2 separate regions of the Homo sapiens genome follow, and region 2 is linked to region 1. Evidence: promoter capture Hi-C in human tissues and cell types (Jung and others, 2019). All regions are on one chromosome and are shown on one strand. Each heading gives the region's core, a stretch centred on a gene start or on the middle of the fragment in contact. The rest is flanking DNA. Distances are from core to core; before and after follow the strand shown.

Evidence for each region. Contacts are between HindIII fragments. The study calls those that stand out against the background at their distance.
Region 2: a contact is called between a fragment that was not itself captured here and the fragment with the promoter of TTLL7 in region 1, in 3 of the 25 tissues and cell types used here (mesenchymal stem cells, small bowel and stomach).

What each region holds. Positions count from the first base shown.
Region 1 is chr1:83,996,308-84,001,286 of GRCh38, reverse strand. TTLL7 (tubulin tyrosine ligase like 7) reads left to right here and starts at 2,155. Exons shown (of 21, transcript NM_024686.6): 1 at 2,155-2,356. It overlaps LOC124904205 (a long non-coding RNA gene), which reads right to left and starts at 1,999. Exons shown (of 2, transcript XR_007066195.1): 1 at 1,581-1,999. RefSeq lists silencers at 2,256-2,355, 2,366-2,495. The HindIII fragment of the contact is 6,127 bases long and covers 1-4,979 here.
Region 2 is chr1:84,721,101-84,726,079 of GRCh38, reverse strand. No RefSeq gene overlaps it. Among named protein-coding and RNA genes, the nearest start is that of SSX2IP, 33 kb to the right of the region's middle. The HindIII fragment of the contact is 5,423 bases long and covers 1-4,784 here.

The DNA of each region.
Region 1 (4,979 bases), core at 906-3,405:
CTCTAAATTCCTTTCTATATCCCTATCATCTAACATCTGACATAAAGCACTAACTCAGAAGACGCCTCATCTACATGTGTTCTGTTCCTGTTGTTGCCTTTGAAAGTGAAACAACTGCACATGGAGAGAAGAATCACACATTTCTGAGCCTGAGGCCAGTCTGGCCACTGGGGACCCAATGCTCCTGCTCCTCGGCAACATGCAACTTTGGGGATTTCTGTTTTGCTGCTGCTGACGTGTGAATCTTTACAACAACCATTAACATAGTAACAATATCATATCATACAGAAACAATTTAATTTTATTCCTGATTTCTCAAAAAGCTTTCTTGAGGTGACGTTAAGTGTTGCTAATACCTCTGTTACTTAACATTTTTTTTGATAAGGTATATGAGGACCCATGATAATAGGTTTATTGAAAAATTCTTGCCCCTTCCTAGGAATGGAAGAATGATAACATGTAATGTAGTAATAGTGCATGCATAGTGTAAAGTGTAATACAGTGAAAATAATGATGTAAAGATGATTAACAAGAAGGCAGTGGAGAATTCCTCTTCAACCTCATGTGACCTTGACAGTGTATTGTGACGCTGATGTTCGGCTAGTTCTGGGTGAAGTCCAGCTTCTTCTTTCTGATCACTCTTCTTGCCTCAGGGTGATGCCTACCCTGGACACCTAACTGCCCCCTCTCCATTCTAAAACCCCTTCTCACAAAGGAAGGATAAACAGACTCACATTCAAGTTGCAATCACAGATGTGACACGGTTTAATGTATATCGTTCTCAGAGGCATTCTAGGGGAAAGGAACAAGTCAAAAACTCCAGGTGGCAATGTCTGCTCTGCCGCTTATGATCGTGAGACTAACCCAGCACGACAAACCCTGAGCCCAGTTTCTCACCAGTGTCCTTTATGAGAAGATGCCCTCACTGACCAGATCAGTTCCCAATGCTGGCAAGGCTGTATGGAGGTCTATTGCAGGTTACCAATCTCACAGGAGTTTTTAGAAGAATAAATGAAGAAATGAAAATGAGACTATTCTCAGCACAGTGGTCTATAGAAAGTGCTGAATTTATGTTGATTTACTCAACGAAGGACAAAACTTTAAATTGTGAAATTTTATATTTTTTGGGATGCACTTGGAGGGCCTTTTTTTTTCCTACCTTTAATCACATTTTATAGGTAGTTGCCAATTCTGTTCTATCTTTTCTTTTTTTCTACAGGGAAAACTGTACACTTGTCCTGATCTTCACCATGCTCTGAAATGAACCTGTGTGAACCCAGCGTGACAGAAGCAGGGACCACAAAAGTCTAAGGAATTCATGTGTTAGGACTTCTTCCAGTTCTATACAATTCATTTTATGAGAAGACATGATTGCCTTCCCGTTTTCAAGACACGCAACTCTAAAATGGTGAACAATGAACCTCGAATATTCTTTAATTTCTGCAACAATCTTCTGTAAATCTTTATCTCGAAATGGCTTCCTAAATCTACATTTTTTTACAACTGCCGTGGTTCAACATTTGCTTAGCAGGAACTCTAGGTCAGAGCTGTCCCTCAGCATCTACGGGATGGGGCCCCACCTGATTTTATTTCCTAACTTTCGAGCTGGCCTCAGATACCCGTTTATTCTTTGCTTCACAAAGATGCTTAGATAAAAGATCTGAAGACTCTCTTCAAAGATTCAAAAAGCTCCACTGTTTTGTGGGAAGATGTCTGTGGTCAGATAGGCAGGTGGATCGGGCGCCTAGGGCCCGGAGGTAGAAGGAGGTGGCCGGAGGCGCTCAGGCCAGCGCCTCTCGCATCTCTGAGGAGGGGCGCCGCCCAGGCGCTCGCGTTGCTAAGTCCTCTGTTTGCCGCGTTCTAAAGGAGCCCCGAGCGGGACCAAGGCAAACGGGGGGGGGGTGTGTGTGGCCCGGGAAAGCTCGAGCAGTGTCTTCAGTAAACCCCCAGAAGAGGCAGCGGCCCCTCCGTTGATCCCTCCTGTCCCCAGGACCTCCTGACTCCGAGGGGGCAGAGGATTCCCCGAGTCCTTTGTTCCTCCCAACCGTCGCCGCCCCCGGCGCCCGCGCCTCTCGGCACGTCGTGCACCCCCGGCCGCAGCAGGCGAATGGTCTGGCCCGTCGGTAGCCGCCACCCGCTTGGGCAGCGACAGCTGTTCCAGGCACTCCGCGTCGAGCACCGGAGTCCCGAGCCGTGGCTGCCACGGGCGGTGGGCGGGCGGAGGAGAGCACCGGACCACCAGTGCAGGCTGCCGAGTCGGGGCGGCCGCCCACGGGGAAGCTGCGAGGCGCGGGAGCACCTGGGGGACCGCTTGCAGCGGGGACGCGAGGACCCGGGCTGGGCTTTCCTCACCCGGGTGAGTACCTGCTGCCGCCATCCTCCCCCGACCCCCTTCCATGTCCCCACGTCCCCAAAGGCTCCGCCCTGGCCCTCTTTCCGGGCCCCCATCCCCGGACTGTCACTGCTCTGGGGACACCGTCCCCGCTGGGAGCCGCGGAACGGGGAGCTGCTGCGTTCGTGCAAATGATTCAGCACCATTCGTGCCCTGAGAGGTTTGGGCAGAATGGGGGAGGGAGAGGGCGGAGGGGACGGGGTCAGTTGCTGTGATCTCAGCTCAGTTTTTAGGCTCCAGATGGGAGACTCGGGCGGGCGGGGTCGGGTTGGGTGAACGAGGAGGCTCCCTGCTGGTTTATTCTGTAATTCCGTCGTTTTCCCACATCGTGGTATAAGCCTCCGCGAGTATGCGGGGCATTCTTGAAAGGGTATCAAAATGCCCTTTTCGCACATGCGAGTGAAGTCTAGGGCCCTTGTAGGTACCTCTCACTTTCTCCACATCTTGCTCTGTTGGATGCCTGACTCATGCCATCATCCACTTATATCACATCGCAGCGTTCCCTCGACTGATGTAAAAGATACCCTATGAAAGTTGCCTTGTATTCTGGGTGGGTTTGATTGATCCTGGCATAGAAAGAAAAGATTTAGGAGAGGTAGGAAATAATACCTTCATAGCCTAGGCACTTACTTTTATATATCGTATTTTATTAAATCATCATAATCCAGAACCAAATGTGGAAACTGAGGAGCAGGGAAGTTAAATTACATTCTCAAGGTCACAGAACAGGAATTCGAATATAGGTTTTCCTGACTCTATAGTCCATGGATTTTCCACTGTATTAATGGAGTGTGTCCAAGTGTACATATATATGCTCTATTAGATATTAAACATAGAATTAATTAATTGAGGAGTAATCTCAAACAACAGCAACAACAACCTGTAAACTTTCTGCATAAGGAATTATTGCTCCTTCAATATGAAAGAAAGATGCTTTGAATCATGTGAAAAATAATCTATTTTCTTAGAAAGCTTATGGCAAAAAATATGTGAACAACACTACATAGGAGAGTGAGGTCATAACAGGAGATGTTCAGCACATTTTTGGCAGTGATATTTGGTGGATGCTCAAGTGTTGGAGAAGTCGATTAAAAACGTAAGAAGAACTCTGGAAATCTTTTTCTGTCTTAAATGTTAGGGAGACATTTACAGTAATAATAGTTACTTAGTTCATGAGGTGTGCGACTGAACTGCACCCCACAATAGGGTGACAGGTGAACCCATACTAAGATAATGTTACTTGATTCATTACAACTCTGTGATATTGCATAACAGGTGATAACTCCATTTTACAGACTAAGGAACAAAATTCAGAGAAGGTTCAAGACCACTCAGTAAGCCATGGAATTTGGACAAGCCTTGACTCTTAGTCAGTTTAGAAATATGAGTGTTGTAGTAAAATGTAGTTCTTATATAGTGGGAAACTGAATTAGTTTGTTGTTACCCTGCCGTTAAGAGTCAACAATTATATTGACCTTCTATGCTCCTTCTGTAAAAATAATGGATGCTAGGTCTTTCTTCGCCCGTTGATGGGTCCTTTGACTTGCTTTCATTAGCGACTTACAGATTTTTTCTTAAGAAATGCATCTCTTGTTTATGTCTCAAGAGGCAGGTTGCTATAGTACAGATGCTCATTATCTCTAAATACTCACATAGTATTGATGGTAGGCAGGAACAGAGTCATCTTAGTATGTCATTTCTAAAGTATTGAACCATTTGCATTGGAGAATTCTTTTTCAAGTTAACGGGGGTATTGATAAAGTCCACTGCCTAAATAAGGACATAAAATGGAGGCACAAATTTATATTTGTTGTTCAAACAAGAGTATGAGAAGTGGGGTCTTGTGAAGAGTCTTGAGTTTGATTCCTAAAAGTCATTTCATTTTGTTCTTTACATGGCTATAACCTATATCCTGAACCTTGGCAAGGCATCTTGTAATCCAATCTGTTTAATCCTAAGGGGGACAGCAGAACTGGCATGAATGAATAAGCAAAAATACAATACCACTGCTGTTAAAAAAAAAAAAAGGAAAGTGCATGTCCTGGTGATGGATGGTCAGCAGCAACATTTTAAAACAGAGACAGCACATTTTACTTAGATGACATCACTGAGAGTATGAATATAATACCAACTTGGCTTTAGAACTGCTCTCTCTCCTCTGTCCAATGACTACAGTCTGCAAACCATCTAAATTCCCCACTTCAAGGAACTTAAAGTCTAGCAGGGGAAATTTTACTTACACGTGAGTAATTAACAAATAACTTAGAATTGGCTTAATACCAGAAAAGGGTGGTGCAGACCTACTGCTATAGCGGTACCTTAAGAGAAAAGAGAAATAGTAGAGCCTTGGATGATCAGAGGATCAGGAAAGTCTTCATGGGTTGAAGTGAATTAAATCAGTCTCAGAGACTGGAAGGATTCTGATAGGCAAAGAGAAAGCCACATAAAGGTTCAGCTAAGAAGTGCTCATCTACTGTTTGGATACATGGTGAAAGATCATGAAGAAACTTGAATGTCAGACAGTGAGATCTGTTTCTGATCTGTTAATCATTTCTCTTTCTTACATTCTCCATATCTGTTGCCCCGA
Region 2 (4,979 bases), core at 824-3,323, 720 kb before region 1:
CTACATGGCTGGAGAAGGAGGAAGAGAGACAGAAGGGAAAGGTGAAGGTGCTACACACTTTTAAACAACCAGATCTCATGAGAACTCTCTCACTGTCACAAGAACAGCAAGGGGGAAGTCCATCCCCGTGATCCAATCACCTGCCACCAGGCCCCTCCTCCAACACTGGGGATTACAATTCAATGAGATTTGGGCGGGACACAAATCCAAACCATATCATATGGCCTCCACATGCCAAAGAAGGAGTAGGGTGAAGGGCAAAAACTTCCTAAACCTAAGCCCTTTAAAGAGCTTTCCAGAAGCCCTGATCAGCAGCACTGCTTGTAACCCTAGACTAAGGCTAAAACCCTGTACCATAGTCAGCCTTAGCTACAAGGGAAATGTAGTTGAGTACATTGTTACCTTGAACAAAATGGAGAATCTCTTAGTAATGAATAAAAGATACTACTAGGTATCTATAGAGCCTACTAGGTAGGCTGCTAGCAGTGTCTGCCACTCATAAGCTGGAGAACGATGAGATAGTTTCTCGGACTTGATTTGTCTGGTGTCCTTGTGCCCTCTGAGGATGGGGGAAGGGAATTAGCAAAAAAGAAAAGCTCCACTTTTGCCAATTCTCTGGTTACCTACCTTTGCACACGTCAGTCCTGAGAGGACTCTTTTGGGGCATGAAAGTTCACTCTAAACCAGAGGTGTCCGGTTTCTTGGCTTCCCTGTTCTACATTTGTAGAACACATAAAATAACACTAACAATAGCCGATTAGCTTTAAAAAAGTCACAAAAAAGTCTCATAATGTTTTAAGAAAGTTTACGAATTTGTGTTGGGCCACATTCAAAGCCATCCTGGGCCTCCTGTGGCTCACGGGCAATGAGTTGGACAAGCTTGCTCTAAGCCATCATTGCATGAGTTCTCCACCTTTTGCTTCAGGAGTGCCCAGCAGGAGATTGCTAGGAGTGAAATGCTGTAGAGTGGAGTGAGGTTCACCTCCTCGAATATAGGGTCAATATAGGGTCATTCTGGGGGACCCTTGAACTCTCCACATTTTTTTCTATCTTCATTTTAATAGTAATGTAAAAGGAAATTATTTTATGTACTGTATATAAATAAAACTTCTCTTTTCCCATAATAGCCACTTGATGCATACTTTAATCGATTTAGGGGTTACTTAAAGTATCTCTCGCTTGGATTTTGCAGGCACGCTCCTGGGGGTTGTAGGGGATGTAAAAGCGTCTGCACAGTACCGAAGTTGAGCAACCGGTTCCAGTGTCTTTAAGCAAGGACGTTTGGAAAGGATCTGATGTGCATTGCTGTTGCCTTTTGGCAGCACATACTGTGAGCAGTGTCCTAGGAGGTGATGCCGAAACGCCCAGCCCTGACGCTAAAGAGGAATTGATTTCTCAAAGTGCAGAGTCAACAGGTGCCGTAAGAGAACTGCTGACAGGAACAGGCCCTGGGACCGGGAATTTGGGAACCTGCTACCATTAACAGAGCTCTGCTGGGAGCGTCATCTGCTCCCAACGTCCGCTGTTGCAAAAGGGAACAGCCAGGGGGCGCAATTCTGCGATTCTGAGCTAAACACCCCAAGCGCAGTAGGTACAGCCAGGGTGGGTGGCAGGGAAACCACAGGGAGGTTAATGAGGGCTTGGACTGTGCTCTTAATTTATTCCTGAATTCTCAATACTTAGGCCACTGCCTTGGAACACGACAGCATCTTAATTTTTTTTTTTCAAGAAAGCAAAAAGAATGAACAAATGAATGAATTGAGACCAGACAAAAATGCTTACTATTTGAATTTTCGCACCATCTACCAGCCCATACCCCAGGTTTTTGCATGCTTAACTTCTTTTCTTCCTGCTATAGTGAATTTGATTTCTGCCTTTTCTTTCTCCACTCTCTCCACCCACTGAGGGGATTTCTGTTGTTGATGAACTTGTTCTTTGGACTTTTTTGGTGGAAAATAGTAAGAGAGGGATGAAATCGAGAGATTAGCTAGTAGGTGAGAAGGGGAGGGAGCTTGATTTATTGGTGCTTCGCTGGTACTTGTCTTAAGTGCAATTCCCTCCACTCTTCATGGACTGTCCCCACCTCCCTATCAGAATCCTCTGGGAACTCAATGCTGATTCCTTGGCCAAGCCTAGATCTCTCTGGGAGTTGCCCCACCTCTTGTCATATATTTGCATAGTAATAAATGATGAGTGCTGGAGTAAGAGCTTAAAAGCATAGAGATAATGTTGTGCTACAGGATAGAAGCCTTTTGAGGGTCAGTTTGAGGAGAGAGCCACTGGAGCCATGGTGGGGTGGGAGTAGTGGGAAGTGGCTTGAAGAAGTGTTAATGTATGTTAGGGTCCATTTAAGGTTCTTAGAGAAATTCCAAAAACAGTAGAATTCCCCCTGGCTGTGCTTCTTGAACACGCGGCTGTTAGGATACTGAGCCGTATTAACCTCTGGGTTTACAAGCCTTACACTTCTTACATTTCTTCTTTACATTTCTTGCACAGTAAGAAATGAAGGAACAAAAGGAATAAATGAATGATAATGTATCTGGTCGTCTCTTACATTCTAGTGAGTCACCCTCGACATAAGAAGAAAAGTGGAGACTGTTAGATTTATTTCCTGAGAGAGAGAATAATTTTCTAGTAGGTCACTGAACCCCGAGGAAGCCTAGAGCGCAAGAAACTTTGGGAGAGATTCAAGCCAGTGGCTACAATCTTGAATTACAACCCAGCCCTTCCTTCCAACAAAGGGTATGCATAGGGAAAGAGATATATCAAACTTTTTAGCCAAACTTTTAAAGAAAAGCTGAACAATAGAATGGCTAAAGTGAAAAAATACAAAAGGACACTTAAAAATATATATTTTTAAATTATGTCTTGAAACTTCCCTGCCAGGAACTTATTAATATCTCCTTCAACCTCCCTTCTCCCTTGTATTAGCGTTCTCCAGAGAAACAGAACCAATGAGCTGAAAAGAGAGAGACATTTATTTTAAGGAATTGCCTCACACAATCATGAATGTTGGCCAGATTTCATCCTGTAGGCCAGCAGGATGAAGACCCAGGGAAGAGTTGATGTTGCAATCTTGAGTCTGAAGGCAATCTGGAAGCAGAATTTCTTTTTCCTCGAGGGACTTCTGTCATTTCTCTTCAAAGCCTTCAAGTGATTAGATGAGGCTCACCACATTATGGAGCAAGCTGCTTTACTCAAAGTCTACTGGTTTAAATGTTAACCACATCTAAAAAAAATACTTTCGTAACAACATCTAGATTGGTATTTGACCAGAAAATTAGCCACCATATCTTATCCAAGCTGACAAAATTAACCGTCACACCCGATCCCTCCCAAAGCTTAATATAGTAACAATCAAAACAATAAATAACCACTGTTTCAATGAGGAATTATCAACCCCACAAAAACAGAGAGCCATGTGGTTATTTAATGGTGGCAAGAGAAGAGGGGATAATGGAGTATGAATTGGGGGAAGTAATTGTGATCAAATCCTGACTCTTGCTAGGAAAAGGGTATGACATAAAGAAGAGGAGCATGTTCTTGGCTCTTAAAATGAAGAGTTGGGAAATGCTGGTATAGAAGGAGAGCTGAATATTACCTTTGAACAGTCAAGGGGTAGACTAAAGTCAGCATTATTCAGGTTTGTGATCACCTAGCATCCTTTCACTCACTGTTTGTAGAATTTCCATACTGATTTCCTCTTCCTCAAATTATTCTTCCTTGCAGCTAGGGTACAGGCATGTGACCCTGATTCAGCCCTATCTGCTATGAAAGGAAAATAAATCTTGGGACCCCAAAATCACTAAGCCAAAGGGAAGAGTCAAGCTGGAACTGCTTAGGGCAAACCTGCCTCCCATTCTAACCCTAATAAAGATAGCTACTAAGATAAAAAAGCTACAGACCTCCCTCACAATTAGTTCACAAGGAACTTCCTTGCTGACAAAAGACAGACAGAACTCAAAAGTCATCCCTTCTGCTCACTGAGATAAACACATATCTGATTGCTTCCTTTGAAGAGGCTAATCAGAAACTCAAAAGAATGCAACCATTTGTCTCTTATCTACCTATGACCTGGAAGCCCCCTCCCCACTTCGATTTTCCCACCTTTCTGGTCTGAACCAATGTACATCTTACATATATTGATTGATGTCTCATGTCTCCCTAAAATGTGTAAAACCAAGCTGTGCCCCGACCTTGGGCACATGTTGTCAGGATCTCCTGAGGCTGTGTCATGGGCGCATTCTGAACCTTGGTAAATAAACTTCCTAAAATTGACTGAGACCTACCTCAGATATTTGGGGTTCACACTGTGCATACCTCTTATTTAGAAGTGAGTAAAATGAAATGTAGGTACAGTGAAGAAAGGATCTATTGGTGAAGGTGGGGTTGGAAACATCCCATGTTTAAAGAGCAGTCACGGCAGAGTTCTTGGCATCTAGTCCTATCCCTATTAGTATGAGCTATGAGGTCTTCTCCAGAGTAGCCCCTATCATGTGGTTTGAGCCTTGCTTCTGACTCTACAAGGATAGCCTCCACTACTGACCCTCTGCGCTACCTACTATCCTTCAATATCCTTTGTCAAATAACGTGCATTGGATTTGAGGCTATAATTAGCTCACCCTTTATTACTAAGCCTTTGTTCAGTGTTACCTAAGAATTACCAGTTTGATCTGTAGATGAAGCCCTGGGACTTTGAGGCAGAGGGCCTAATTTGAGGGAGACAAGAAGACTCTGAGTCAGCAAACCTCTCTTCTATCAGAAAGTCTGGTTTCTATTGGTGCAGACTGAGTCATGGTTCCTGATAACTTACAAATACCATAGTGAGGTATTTTATGGCTCTTAGTTGAAGAAACTGTTTCTGTCTTCATTTTTACCACTTCCCATGTAGATTTGCACAGACATGGCTTTTATCACAAAATGTGATTTAAATAGAAGTGTTCATCCTTATACTGTAACTGCTGGTTAAGTATTTGAGA